2 separate regions of the Homo sapiens genome follow, and region 2 is linked to region 1. Evidence: promoter capture Hi-C in human tissues and cell types (Jung and others, 2019). All regions are on one chromosome and are shown on one strand. The core of a region is centred on a gene start or on the middle of the fragment in contact, and the rest is flanking DNA. Distances in the headings are between cores, read along the strand shown.

Region 1 (7,963 bases), core at 1,690-4,189:
TGTCATACAAAATGTGGGGAAGCACGGCAGATCAATAGCTATTCTGGGTTAATACTGCCACAGGTTTTATTTTTTTCCTTTAACAAAAGAAGGACTTTCCTCCTCATTACATAGATCACAGCTTATTACGTCCAAGGCATATTTCCGTGGTCTGTTTATGGAAATCAGCGTTTAGAAGGAGAATTTTTTTGAGGTTACATGTGCTTTTTATACAAGCAATGGGGCAGTGACACTCCTATGGAGTTAGTCCTTTTAAAGCTCTGCAAATGGCTATTAGCCCTTAGGTTTGAGAAGGGAGTGAAACTTACCTGATGGGCCACCTGGACCCTCCAGGTCTCTCCCTACCTGGCGCCCTCTCCAAATCCTGTGTGCCTAATCCTGAGGGGGCATTAGCAGCACTCAACTTGCTTTGTTTATCTGGGGTGATGTTCCTCTGAGCAAAATCCATAAGTGGTTTTTTTGTGTGCGAAATGAAAAGCCAAATAAGAGTGTAAGTGAAAAAGTGAGCTATGTCCTCTCAAAGCATACGTCATCCATTTTTATGTTGCTGATTATACAATTTCTAAATTGCCTGAAGGTGTTAAGTGACAACTTTTGAATTTGCTATTGGAACTCTACAAATTATATATACAATAACATACATTATTTTTAGAGGAGAGTTATGAAACACCTCTGATACCTCTTTTCAGTCTCAAAAGCTGAGGCGGAGAAAGGGCAGATGTTCATCAGCCCATTTAAAAGGTGAGGAAGGGAAGTCTCAAAGAGGTGGAGGAGGAGTTCAAGTTCACACAGCTGGCCAGAGATGACTCAAGGCCTCCAACCCTGACTCTGAACTCCTGGGTCAGGGCAGCAAGACGACTTGTCAAAATCCAGGCAGACATCATTGAGAAATATACACAAGTGGTTTCCCCTCACTCCACACAGAGACCTTAACACCTCTCTATTCTCCATCATCAGCTGCAGTCAATGAACCATATAAATGCAAACTTCAGAAATGCTAAAGTCTCATAAGCAATTTTTAAAGGTATTAAAATACAAAACAGAAGTAAACAAAATTTCTTGCCCCAGGGAACTAACTAATCCAAAGTGGAAAAAATAATGGAAGTTTGAATGCAGTCTCAAAAGTGGCCATAAAATGGAATTCAGAATTTTATTTTAATGTGCATACTACATACTTGCTTTGCCAAGGATGACTGGTAGTAAATTCTCATTTATAAAACTAAGCTATAAAAGAAAAAAAGAAATAGTGGAATGAGAGGCAAGAGCGCGCAAGCAAGAGCAGGTGTGAACGGTTGCATGCGATGGCATTCGTCACAGCTGGGATATCAGAGAGAGTCAGATCCTAGGTCAGATGCACCATAGGGGTCCCAGGATAGTCCATCGCCCCTCCCCCAGGACTGGCCTTGGCATGTAACCCCAGCAGCTCCAGGCAGCTGTCTTTCGGCGGAACTTCTAGGAGTGGGGGCACCCATCAGCGCTGACCTGCGGGGCTCCAGCTGAGGACAGTCCGGCCGTGGGAGTTTATAAAGTAATGGACAACAGGCAATGCTCTTCCTGCCCAACAGCAGTGGTCAGAGGGACAGATCTATCCTCACAGAGACTGTCAGGCACTGTCGCTACAGACACGGCCCCTCCCCCGGCACTCAGTCCTGCCTGCCTTACACAGGAGTACAGGAAAGGAACTTCCAATGAGTCCATCTTTTATGTTAGGAGAGAGGCAAGGTGCTGAGTTTCCCATCCGGGGAGTTCAGCTGCACCCTCTCCCCAGCCCCCACCTCCCTGACTTCCCCTCCTCCCTACTACCCCTAACCAGTGGCCCATCATTCCTTTCCCAGTCAGTCTTGGCTGTGATGTTAAGCGGCTCTGCCGGACCCCATATTTTGTCTGGTCTCTAAAAGGGCACTGACCTGAGGGTACAAATGCAGAGGCCCCGGGGCAGCTAGGCAGCCGCGAGCAACCCAGCACCCAGCTGCCTAGGGTGCTCCAGGCAGCGGCGGCAGCAGCTAGAAGCTGGTGTCATTATTACACAAGCCAGGCAAATCCTGCTCCAGTACACAGAGCGCATCTAACCAGCAGGAAGGAAATAAGCCAAAATCCTCCCGACACCACACACACACACACACACACACACACACACACACACACACACACGAGTCTGAGGACAAGGACAAACACTTTGCAGAAAGAACCCTCCCCCCACCCCACCGACGTCCAAGTCCCTGTTTCAGGATTCCTCACCCCCCAGTAGCTTCTAAAATCCTCGTGTTTGACCACCTCTCCCAACACATGGGACAGAGAGAATTTGGCTAACTTCAAATCCTGTCTCCTGAGCACTTGCCCACAAATAGTAGGGGGAGTGATGGGGACGCCCCCCTGTTCCCTCCACCACCCTCACTTCTGCCCCCCACGCCACTCTCAGGTTGACAGCGTCGGGGAAAGACATCAGACCATCAATCCAGCTTTTCCTGCCAGCTGGGGAAACAACACTCGGTCACTAACAGCACCCAATCACCTAGAGAGCGAGAGTGAGCCGAGGCAAACACGCCGGGTTCCAGACACCGTCCCAGCCCCCGAGACCCGGGTTTGCAAAGGGCTGCACACGTTCGCCGGAGGGTCGCTGCCGCCTCCGAGAAAGGACTTGAACCTGAGCCCGGTGAAGGTAAAATGACACAGAGACTCACCTTTAGGTTGTGTGTGGGGTTGACGACACAGACAAGTTGCCCGGCAGCGGAGAAAACCCGTTTAGCCTTGTAGTGCTGAAACCGGAGATGAATGAGATCTAATACAGCCCCAAAGCACTGGGTAAAGAAAAGCATCACAACTTTTGGGGGGTTGTTGGTCCGGGAAGGCAGCGGAGGAAGCTGTGAGTCCTTGGGCCCTGGAAGGAGCGCAGCCTCTGAGACACTCCGCTCCAGCCCGGCTTAGCGCGCCTTCATATTCATCATCAAAATAAGACGGTTAGAATCTTGCAGCAGTGAGGCGGCCAATCAAAAGGACAGAAATGTTATCCTTGAGGTGCAGAGACAGCCAATAACAAATGCCTTCCCTACCGAAACTCCCTGATGAATTGAGCCTGGCGGAGAATGTATTATTGAACATTACCATAGATCAGCACATTGCATTTATCTTGTGATTACAGCCAACCATACCTAATGCTGGGGAGATAGGCTGACAAAATTGATTGCTTAATGTGTCTCCATTTATTAATTGACTTAATTTAACATGAGAGCCTTTCTTAATGCCCTGGCAAGAACGTAAAGCGTTTAAGCCGCCAAATAGTACAACACCCCGCTCCAAAGTAGGCAGATGGATAACGCAGATCATGGCTCGACTCACCAGAGCTGCTTGGGAGAAAATAAAATATTACTAGACTCTGAATCCAGATAAGGACTTGGCAGCAGCAAAAATGTGTATCTTTCAATCTTGCGTTCTGACTTTCTGCAATTTGGATTACAGCCCCTTGATAAATCTTACTCTCCACTCTTTATCAAAGAAAAGAATCCCTGACAAATTCATTTGGAGTTGAGGGGTGGAGGGAAGCACATACATATATATTACTATACATATATATATATTTTCTTTTTTTCAAAATACTGTGATTACTGAAGTCTGAAAGTATTAAAGGATAAAAATGCACAGAGTATGCTTCAAAAAATAATGAAATCCCTGATGCATGAATGCACACACACAGAAAAACCTACACTGAGAGGAAAGAGGCTTGTAAATCAGCAAAATAATTACAGATGCAGAGAACCTTTGCTTGTCATTCATTTGCATATTGGTGGGCAGCAAATTGCTAATTAACCACTAGATTGCTGGAGACATTAAAATAGAGATTAAGGATGCACATACCACATCATTTACTTGTTTCTGCAAATGCTAGCAGCACATTTCTGTGCTGGCACAGGCAGAGGGCATTCCAGTCCTCAGACTGCAAACCTGTCCTTGCTCCCCAGAACAGGGCTGGTGGGTGGGCGGGAGGCCGCTGGTTCTTGAAGAAAGATTCCTAAGCAGTACTTGAAGGGTTTTGGGTTTTTCGGGACTAGCTCTGATGGTTTAGTCTTTGCAGCTAAAGCAGGGGAGTTCAGTGTATTGTGTTTTCCCTCTTCCCTGGTTGTTTCTCTCTTGAGAAGTCAGGCCAGATCCAGTGCTGCCTGGAGCAGGATCAGCCCCCACTGTGAATTGTACCCTGTGAGTGTGAGCCCCCTCCCTCATGGCTCTTGTTCTGCTCTGGCTACAATGCTTGGGTTGTAATGTATGCAAAACATATGCACACGTGGAACACCTAGGTCTGTGACCTGGTCAGGCAGTTAAACTAACAACAGAATAACATACGGGATAAAAATAATGCACAAGTTTATTGATGCCAGGACAGAGCCCAGGCTGTTCATTTTAACTTGCATTTAAAACCAAACCAATGTTTTAAGAGACAAGCTGAACACCAATTAAACATGGAAACTTTGCACTTTTAAAATAACGACACTGGCACCAAACTAGAAGATGACAACATTTGAACTGATTAGAACCTCATCAATGTGATATTTTTATAGGACCTGAGTCCCTGGAGCCACTTGTTACATGGCATATAATAAAGGTTGCTGGCCCACAAAACCAGAATCTGCTTTCTAAAGTTTGAATTGTCCAGAAAATAAGCTTTCAGCAGTTCATTGGGAAAACATTTAATGTCCTTTCATTGGCTTACTTGTTTTAAAAACTAAAAGTGTGCAGATACTCTCATAGATTCCTTAAAGATATATTCATAATTTAGAAAGGTTCAAATTATTTTTACATCTTTGGCTCTAGTGGAACGATTGTGTTGATTTTTTGTTCTGTTTTGTTTCATTTTTCTTTACTTTTTAAAGATGTATTGTTTCCGTCATCCTGCTAGAAGTAAGTTCCATGAGAATGGGGATTTCTGCTGTTTTTTTTTTTTTTTTGGAAAGGTATTTTTAAAATAAAATGATTGTACACAAAATAAGGATGCCAGCAAATAGGTCAAAGATCTATAACTTTGTGTTGATAATCTCATGCTTGTGCTTAAGATATAAAAATCAATGCTCCTTTAATTTTATCTTGATTTTTAAGAAATTAAAGACCTAATGTTTTTAGAGTAGTTTTAGGTTCACAGCAAAATTGAGAGGAAAGTACAGAAATACCTCATTTTGCCCCTACCCCCACACCTGCACCACCTCCCCTATTATCAACACCCCCCCACTATAGGGGTGCATTTGTTACAATTAATGAACCCACATTGACGCATCACCATCATCCAGAGTTCATAGTTTATACTAGGCTCACTCTTGGTGTTGTACATTCTACGGGTTTGAACAAATGTCAAATGACCCAAATCCATTGTTAGAGTAACATACAGAGTATTTTCACTGCTCTAAATATCCTCCGTGTTCTGCTTATTCATCCCATCCCACCAACCTCCCCCAGCTCTTGGCAACCACTGATTTTTATGCTGTCTATGCCATAGTTTTGCCTTTTTCAAAATGTCACGTAATTGGAGCCATATAGTATGTAGTCTTTTTGAACTGGCTTCTTTCACTTAGTAACATGCATTTAATATCCATGTCTATTCATGACTTGATAGCTCATATGTTTTTAACACTGAATAGTATCCCATTGGGTGACCACAGTTTATTTATCTGTTCATCTATGGAAGGATATCTTGGTTACTTTCAAGTTAATTTTTGTGAATTGTGTAAGATCTGTGTCTAGATTCCTTTTTTAAATCTGCATACAGATGGTCCAGTTTCAGCACCATTTGTTGAAAAATTGTTAGATTTACAACTATGTCTTCTTGGGTGCTAATGTAAATAGTATTGTGTTTTTAATTTCAAATTCTACTTGGTAATTGTTTACTTACAGGAAATCAATTGACTTTTTATGTGTTAACCTTGTATTCTACACCTTTGCTATGATCATTTATTAGTTTGAAGTATTTTTGTTGATTCTTCTGAATTTTCTACATAAACAATCATGTCATCTGTAAACAAAGGTAGTTTTATTTCTTTTTTCTCAATCTGTATATCTTTTATTTCCTTTTCTTGTCTTATTGCATTAGCTAGAACTTCCAGTGCAATATTGAAAAGAAATGGTGAGAGAGGACATCCTTGCCTTGTTCCTGATCTTAGTGGGAAAGCTTCTATTTTCTCACCATTAAATATGATGTTGGCTGTAGGTTTATTGTAGTTATTATTTATCAAGTTGAAGAAATTCCCTTCTACTCCTACTTTACTGAGAGTTTTTATTATGAATGGGTGTTGGATTTTGTCAAATGCTTTTTCTACATCTATTAATATGATCAGGTGATTTTATTTCCTTAGCGTGTCGATGTAATTAATTACATTAATTGACTTTTAAATGTTGAACCAGCCTTGTGTACTTGGAGCAAACCCATTATTATATAGCTTTTTTCCTTTATTATAACCTCAGCCAGTTATCTTAACCTCACCAAGGCTCAGTTCCCACAACTATGACATGGGAATAATAGACAATTATTTCTATTATAATAGAAATAAACTTTTTCTAAGTGCAATATACTTAGAAGGGTAAATGTTCCTGATATTACCCAGAGACCAGGATGGGGAAGGTGAAGCCTGAAGGGCTGCAGAGTGCCGATCCATATCAGCCATGAGACTAGCAGCACACACCTGCTACTACAGATTCTTTCCCTGGCTTCAGACTTGAGCCCTAGCTCTAACTCTTTACCCAAAAACTGGCTTCTGTCACTCTATTTTAGAATATGAAGTACATCAATCTGTTCCTAGAGACAGTCTTAAAAATAATCATTCGATGGGCAATGTTTGGAACTTACCATAATAATAAATGTTGATGATTAATGTCCCAAAATAGGGTGGCACAAACTAGCCTTGAGGTGGAGATTTGGAGCTATGATCACTTCTTATTACCAAGTTGGCTCCTTTGCAAGAGATAAACCAATCCCCTCATGTTACCCATGAAGCCTAGGACATCCCCTTCTTTTTTATGGCAACCAAATTTACATATTATCTGTACTAGAAAGTGTCTGGGATTAAAAATCAGACAAATCTGGATTCAAACCCTGAATTGTTAGTTACTGTTATTTTGGGCAAATTACTTAACCTCATTTATGCTTAGTTTTGTTGTCTGTAAAATAAGCTATTAGTTTCATTAAAGCATAGTTTAAAAGATTAAATAAGTAACTAGAGATAAAATGACCAGCCAAATGCCTAGTTTTTGTGATAAATGTAGCAATGAGAAGCTATCATCATCATCATCATCATTACCTTCTTCTTATCAAAAACATATTTGTGTAAATAACACAAAGTACCAGTGAGGTTGTGGAACACCAAAACTCTCATATATCGTTAGAAGCCACTTTGGAAAACCATTAGGTATCATCTACTAACACTAAACATATATATATTCTATGACCCAGAAATTCTACTCCCCATATACAAACAACAGAGATGTGAGCATGTCCTCACCAAAAGATATGCACTAGGATTTTCATAGCAACATATTCATAAGAGCTAAAAACTGGAAATAACCTGAATGTCTATCAGCAATAACATGAATACATTACATTATTTTTCCTCTGTTAAATACTACATAGAAATGAAAAAGAATGAACTATTGTTACATGCAACAATGCAATAACACAAATGGATCTCACAGATATAAGTTTCAGGTAGAAAAGCCAGATGCAAAAGAATATGTATGTGTGATTCCATTTATGGGAAGTTCAAGGACAAGGTGATCTATAGTGTGAGAAATCAGGAGACTGGTAACCTAGGCAAGGAGATAGCTGAAGGGCAGGTGAAGTGGGCTTGTAGAAAGCTGGCACTATTCTGTCTTGATCTGTGTTCTAGTTTCATTAATGTTATGGATTGAATTGTTTCTCCCCCAAAATTCTTGCTGAAGCCCTAACCCCCAGCACCTCAGAATGTGACTTTATATGAAAATAAAGTCTTTA
Region 2 (7,963 bases), core at 1,462-3,961, 470 kb after region 1:
GACTTCACTTCCTGGGAATTGGCTTGTGACCATTGCCTTGTGGGTATAACATATGAATTTTCAGGGGACATAAACATTATATATCCATCAGATATAACCTCTCATTTGTCCAAAAAGGGAACTGGGTCTCAAAGAGGTTAAATAATTTGCCCAAGATCATTCACTTGCCAAAATGGCAGGAGCAGGATTTGAACGTAGGCCCACTGGACTCCAAACATGTGATCTTCACCATTCACTGGCAACAAGAGGAGGAAAATACTTCCACTGAGTTCTAAAGGCTGAGTAAAATTATCCAGAAAAAGGAAGAGAAGGTAAGAGGTGGAGGAAGTGGTACCAGGCAGAGGGAGCCCAGGAATGAGCAGAGCCAAGAATGTGAGAGAGTATGATGTGTCCAGGTACCTGCAAAGGCCACACACAAGACCACTATGTTCCCAACACAACACATGTTCTCACCTCCAAGCAAGTGAGCTGTTCCTTCCTTCCAGAATTCCTCCCTGTCAGCCTTTAGGTCAATAACTTTTCCTTGTTCTTCAAAATTTATTTCAAGTGTTAATTTTTCCAGGTTTTCTCAAAGGCCTAGGAATTGGCTAGGGGCTCTTTGCACTCCAGCAAGGTGTTGGTCTGCATTTTCCCTGCAGGAGAAAGATGAGAGAATTTAAGAAGCTGTGTCTCCCTGTGCATAAAAGGATACAGCCTCACTTCTATGAGGTTCCTTCCAAGAATATAACATGATTGCCACCATGAGGAAACATCAGGAAAACCCAGATTGAAGGATCTACTACAAAATAACTCATCTCTCAGAATCATGAAAGAAAGAAAAATCAAGGATTTGACCCACATTAAAGGAGATTAAAGGGTTATGACAAAAAATGCAATGTGTGATTTTGAATTAGAAGTGGCAAATTTTGAATTAGAACACAAGTGGCAAATTTTGAATAATGTATATATTTTTAAAAACATAATACTATCATATCAATGTTAATTTTCTGATTTTGATCACTGAAGTCTCACTGTGTAAAAGAATATCCTTATCTTTCAGAAATACCCATTGAAATATAAAAATATTTGGAGGTAAAGAAACTTCATTTCTGCATCCTAGACTCACACATCTCAGAAGTACAAATATGCACACACACACATACACACACATAGAGAAGTTCACACGAATGTGAACATTTGTACTACCCAAAGCAATTTAAAGATTCAATGCAATCCCTATCAAAATATCAATGACATTCTTTACAGAAATAGAGAAAAAAATTCTAAAATTTGTATGGAACCACAAAAGACTCTGAATAACCAAAGCAATCCTGAACAAAATGAACAAAGCTGGAGACATCATACTACCAGATTTCAAACTATGCTACTAAGCTGTAGCAACAAAACAACATAGTACTGGTGTAACAACAGACACATAGACCAATGGAATAGAATAAAGAACCTGGAAATCAATCCATGTATCTACAGCCAGTGGATTTTTGACAAAAGTACCAAGAACATTGACTAAGGAAAGGACAGTCTCTTCAACAAATTGTTCTGGGAAAACAGAATATCCACATGCAGAAGAAAAACTAGAATCCTACCTATCACCCTATATAAATATCAACTCAAAATGGATCAAAGACCTAAATGGAAGACCTGAAACTATAAAACTACTAGAATAAACAATGGGGAACCACTTCAGGACATTGATCTGGGAAAAGATTATATGAATAAGATCTCAAAAGCACAGGCAACAAAAGCAAGAATAAACACCAGAGATTATGTTACACTAAAAAGCTTCTGCATAGAAAAGGAAACAATCAACAGAGTGAAGAGACAGTCTACAGAATGGGATATAATATTTGCAAACTATTCATCGACAGGGGTTAATATCCAGAAGATACAAGTAACTCAAACATCTGAACAGCAAAAATTCATCTAATTCAACTAAACAATTCAATTAATAAATGAGTAAATGATCTCAACAGACATTTGCTCAAAAGGCATACAAATGGCCAACAAATATATGAAAAAATGTTTAACATCACTAATTTCCCTGATGAGGGAAATGCATATCAAACTCACAGTGAAGCATCATCTCACCCCAGTTAGGATAACTATTATTAAAAAGACAGAAAATAACAAATGCTGTTGAGGATGAGGTGAAAATGGAACTCATATACACTGTTGGTGGGAGTGTAAACTAGTCCAACCACTGTGGAGAACAGTGTAGAGGTTCCTCAAAAAACTACAAACAGAACCACCATATGATCCAGCAGTCTCACTACTGGGTATTTATTCAAAGGAAAGGAAATCAGTATATTGATGAGACATGTGCACTTCCATGTTTATTACAGCACTTTTCACAACAGCCAAGATATGGAATCAATCAGGTGTACAACAGCAGATAAAGAAAATATGGCACATATACGTAATGGAATACTATTCAGCCATAAAAAGGATGAAATCCTGTCATTTGTGGCAACATAGGTGGAACTGGGGGACATTATATTAAGTGAAATAAGCCAGAAACAGAAAGTTAAATACCACATGTTCTCACTCATGTGTGGAAGCTTAAAATGTTGATCTTACAGAAGTAGAAAGCAGAACAGAGAATACTAATAGCTGGGAGAAGTAGAGATAAGGGAGTGATGGGAAGAGATTTGTTAAAGGATGCAAAACTACAGCTATACAGGAAGAACAAGCTCTAGTGTTCTATACCATTGTAGAATCACTGTAGTTAACAATATTGTTTCACATAGCTAGGATGATATTAAATGTTCCCAACACAAAGAAATAATAAATGTTTGAGATGATGGATATGCTTATTAACCCTGATCTGATCACTATATATTACATGTATCGCATCATTATGTGCCCCCAAAATATATACTATTATGTGTATTTTTTAAATTAAAAACAAATCAGTCAATAATAAAGAATATCAGCAGTACCTTCAAAGGTCTGGAGTACCTCTCCCTGATCCTGTCTCCCACCCTCCATCTGTGACAACCACTATGTTGCATTATGTTCATCATTCACTTGCTTTGAAAAACAAAAACAAAAAACGTTTCTACCACCTATGGGTAGATCTCTAGTGTAAACAACGTAATGCTTGGCTTTGTCTGTGAAATTTATGTTAAGTGATCACTAATGAACGTCTTCCATGATTTGACTCTTTTGCTCAAGTTTGTTTTTAACATTTGTCAAATGTTAAAATTTGTACAATAGAATACAAACCCTAATTAGCCTTATGCTAATTAGCCATATGCTCATTAGGGTTTGTATTAGCTAATGTGGCTAATTACGGTTTGTATTGCATTGCACAAATATGTCACAATTTCCTTAATCATAGAAATGTCAACATTTGGGGAATCTAAGCAAAAGGGTATGGGAATTTTCTGTACTACTTTTGCAACTTTCTCTAATTATGAAATGATTTTAAAGTAAAAAGTTTTTTCTAATTCCTCTTAGAGCTAAGGAAGAAGAGGGGAAGCAGAAGAAAAAGGAGGAAGAGGCCGGGACAGTGGCTCACGCCTATAATCCCAGCACTTTGGGAGGCCAAGGCGGGCGGATCACGAGGTCAGGAGATGAAGACCATCCTGGCTACCATGGTGAAACCCCGTCTCTACAAAAAAAAAAAAAAAAAAAAAAAAAAATTTGCAGGGCGTGGTGGCGGGCGCCTGTAGTCCCAGCTACTCGGGAGGCTGAGGCAGGAGAATGGCGTGAACCCGGGAGGCGGAGCTTGTAGTGAGACCAGATGGGGCCACTGCACTCCAGCCTGGGCGACAGAGCAAGACTCCGTCTCAAAACAAAAAAAAAAAAAAAAAAGAAAAAGGAGGAGGAAGGAAGGAGATAAGAAAGAGGAAGAGAAGGAAAAAGACAAGAAACAGGAGGAGGAGGAAGACAAGAAAGAAGAGGGGGAGGGAGAGGAAGAGGAGGCGGAGAAGGAGGAAGAAAAAGACAAGAAGGGAGGAGGAGGGGAAAGAAGACAAGGAAGAGGAGGAAGAGAAGGAGGGAAAAGGAAGAGAAAAAGGACAATGAAGAGGGGAAGGAGGAGGAGGAGCAGCAGCAGCATCTCCTGTTCTCTTCCCTCTCCACACACACCCCTGCAGGCTCTCTTACAATGAGATGTCTGTACATAAACGCAGTGTTGCCTTTGCCACGTGGTTTCCAATCTGATCACACTTTCAAAATTTTCTCTACAGAATTTAGTTGTGGGGAACTAGAGACCCAAACAACTTGCTTCAAAAAGGGGAATGAGGTATGCACTAGGCACCCTGCTACCTCCTTCAGTTCTTCCAGGGGCATCCAGTCTCCTCTCGGCTAGCAGCCCTTCTGCTTCTTGCAGTGGGCTTATTCTCCTCTATGGCTCCAACAGCTAGGCCAGCTACCTCATGCGCTGGCCTGTGTGAGGCCACCAGGTCACCCTGGGGCCTTTCTGCTCCTTGAAGTTTTACTCTGTGCTCCTGCTGCTCGCCACCCTGTCTTCTGATCCTTTAGATCTTGAAAAGCAAGGATCTGACTGGCCCAACGCATCTTTCACACCAGGTGATGAGATGAATGTCCCAGGCCAGCTTAAGGCCTGGGACCCCTGGGGTCAGGTGTGGTTGGAGAGGAGGGGAAGGGACCCAACAGGCTGCTGAGTTGCAGGGGCTGCAAGTAGGACAGTTCCCCCTTAGCAGAGAAAGGGTGTGGAAGACATTCTCAGGCTCAGCCTGTCAAAGAAAATCTTGAATATTTTGGTCTCCTGAGCTGATCTAGAAGAAAGAACCAGTATCCGTTGTTTTCATCTAAAAAAAAAATCTACATGACCTCTCTCTTCTCTCTCTGGTTTTCTCACACACACACACACAGATACACACATATATACACCTCAGTGCCTTCTTTTCATTTCAGCCTGGCACGCTGTTAACACTTTTGGTGCGTTTTTATTCCCAGAAAGATGGCGTTTCTGTCCTACCTTTCAACTCCACAGAGAACGCATGTGAAGTTGCTTTTCCTGTGACTGTTGGTTTTGTAAGTCGTACTCACCAGGTCCACATTTACCCGCCTATGGCTTATAACTGCAACATCTGATGACTGGATTAGATCACTTGCAGGGTGTCTTTCAGCTCTAAAATCTGTGGTTCAGCAGCTCATGAGAAATCGGACCCTTAGTTCCTTAGACACAAGCAAAGCTGCCTGGTCTTTCAACTGGAAACCTTTTGAGGCAAAGCTGTGTCACCAGTGCCCTCTCGTGGGCAGATCTGAGACCCACAGTACCTTGAAATTACAAAATTGTAGCAACACTCAGATAATGATTAATGTTTAATTGAGGGCTTACGAAGTGTTAGGTGCTGATCTACAAATATCACACACGTTACCTAATTTAACCCTCACAACACCCCTATGCAATACGTGGTGTGGTTACTACTACTTTTTCTTTTTCTTCCCCCCAAGATGGAGTCTCACTCTGTTACCCTGGCTGAAGCACAGTGGTGCGATTTCCGCTCACTGCAACCTCCACCTCCCGGGTTCAAGCGATTCTCTTGCCTCAGCCTCCCGAGTAGCTGAGATTACAGGAGCCTGCCACCACACCCGGCTTTTTTGTATTTTTAGTACAGACTGGCTTTCACCATGTTGGCCAGACTGGTCTCGAACTCCTGACCTCAGGTGATCTGCCCGCCTCGGCCTCCTAAAGTGCTGGGATTACAGGCGTGAGCCACTGTACCCAGCCGTTTGTGGGTAGAAATTAGGGATGCAGGGTGTGGGTAACTGTCGGGGCAACTGTGTGTGTGTAGAAAGAGGGCACTATGGATGGAACCCACAGCCTAACTTAGTTTAGTCCTGCTTCTTTAACGAGATCCTCTGGGGTTCCAGTTAGGACTTTGTTTGCTAGATGACAGAAATGTTCTATATTGCCAGGCGCGGTGGCTCACACCTGTAATCCCAGCACTTTGGGAGGCCGAGGCAGGCGGATCACTTGAGGTCAGGAGTTCGTGACCAGTCTGGCCAACATGGCAAAACCCCATCTCTACTAAAAATACAAAAATTAGCCGGGCATGGTGGCAGGCGACTGTAATCCCAGCTACTCGGGAGGCTCAGGCACAAGAATTGCTTCAACCTGGGAGGTGGAGGTTGCAGTGAGCCAAGATCTCGCCACTGCACTCCACTCTGGGTAACAGAGTGAGACTGTCGCAAAAAAAAAAAAAAAAAAAAAAAAAAACAACTAAATGTTCTATATCTTAACTGGGGAGTACACATGGATGTATATCTTTGTCAAAACTTCATCAGACAATACACTTAAAATGGTTATATTTTATTCTATACAAGTTATACTTCAATACAGTTGATTTTAAAGTTCTGTGTGTGGTTTCTGAAAAAAAGTCACTTGGAAATCCACATGGACATCATGAAGATTTGTGGGGGAATAAATTGTATATAATTAGAGTATCCAATTTTACGGTTTAGAGTGTGATTACAACAAGATGTGATTTCTTTCACTATTGATTTGCCTATTATAGAATTTCATGTAGATGGATTCATACAGCATGTTCTTTTTTGCTTCTGGCTTTTGGATTTATCAGCAGTTTGTTCTTTTTATTTCCAGTAGTATCCTATTGTATGAATATAACAAGATTGGTTTATTCATTCTGTTAATGGACTTTGGGGTTTTTTTTCCAGTTCTTTTGGATAAATATGCAGGAGTGGAATTTCTAGGTCATATGGTGAGTGTATGACCAACTGTTTCCCAAAGTGTTTGTGCCATTTCATATTTCCACCAGCGATGCATGAGTTCCTATTGCTCCAGATCCTCGCCAGCATTTGGTATCATCAGTCTTTTAAGTTGGGGACCTTTGAGAGGGTGTACAGTGGTATCTCATTGCAGCACAGGCAGAACTTTGAAGCTCAAAAAGTAGGAAGAAAACATGCAAGAATGTATAGAAGACAGGTTAAGCTGATGAATATTACCATGGTCTGCATTATGCTGAGCTAAAATAATTGATTTCCAGCAACTTCTCAGTCTGGACCGGGAGAGAGAATCAAGGACTTGTGGTGTCTTCACTGGGTTGCTGGCCCAAGTGATGGCTCATCCCATATCTTGGGGCAGGTTCAGGAAGGATTCTGATTGAGATAAGGAGAATCAACCCAACTAATGGACAGGAGTAAGAGCAACTATGGAAACTTTCCCCTGAACTTTCACTTCCAGGAGATAACACACAACTCTTTTTTTTTTTTTTTTTCGATGGAGTCTTGCTCCCATCGCGCAGGCTGGAGTGCGGTGGTGCGATTTTGGCTCACTGCAACCTCCGCCTCCCGGGTTCAAGTGATTCTCCTTCTTCAGCCTCCCGAGTAGCTGGGATTACCGGCGTGCACCACCACGCCCTGCTAATTTTTGTATTTTTAGTAGAGACGGGGTTTTGCCATGTGGGCCACGCTGGTCTTGAACTCCTGACCTCAGGTGATTCATCTGCCTTGGCCTCCCAAAGTGCTAGGATTACAGGCATGAGCCACTGTGCCTGGCCTAGATAACATACAGCTCTTAAGACCGGGCGTCTCCTCCAGGTCTCTGAAGGAGAACTGTTTTCAGAGATAGCAGTTTGATTACTAAAAGCTGTAACTAAACAATATTTCTATAATGTACAATCATTTCTATAATGAGCCACTGCTACATAAATAAAGGCTTTTAATGATTGATTGTTGAATTTTGGAAAAGGAGTGCTGGAAAGTAACATTATTTGGGGGAAACACTTTCCTACACCTCAGGTTTCCATACCAAGCAGGGAATCATGATTCCCTGATAGAAAAGAGGAGGCGGGGGATGTTCCTGGCCCCTTTCTCCACACCTAGGATATGACAGTCAGGACATTTAACAACCAGTGAAGCATGGTCACCACCAATCAGAAAAGATGCCACCTGGAAGGGGTCTTTGGTGCCCCTGCCAGGTGCTGTCGCTGGGAGGTCTGAGAGTCGGAAGGAGGGGCTGGAGGCTAGAGAG

What was found. Contacts are between HindIII fragments. The study calls those that stand out against the background at their distance.
Region 2: a fragment that was not itself captured here is called in contact with the fragment with the promoter of SIAH3 in region 1 in 1 of the 25 tissues and cell types used here (dorsolateral prefrontal cortex).

Annotation. Positions count from the first base shown.
Region 1 is chr13:45,848,814-45,856,776 of GRCh38, forward strand. It overlaps SIAH3 (siah E3 ubiquitin protein ligase family member 3), which reads right to left and starts at 2,940. Exons shown (of 2, transcript NM_198849.3): 1 at 2,682-2,940. The coding sequence starts at 2,816. RefSeq lists an enhancer at 1,512-2,049. The HindIII fragment of the contact is 6,525 bases long and covers 1-5,400 here.
Region 2 is chr13:46,316,592-46,324,554 of GRCh38, forward strand. LOC105370194 (a long non-coding RNA gene) reads right to left here and starts at 5,168. Exons shown (of 3, transcript XR_941946.4): 1 at 5,017-5,168; 2 at 454-632. RefSeq lists enhancers at 2,799-3,347, 4,405-4,904. The HindIII fragment of the contact is 6,042 bases long and covers 1-5,732 here.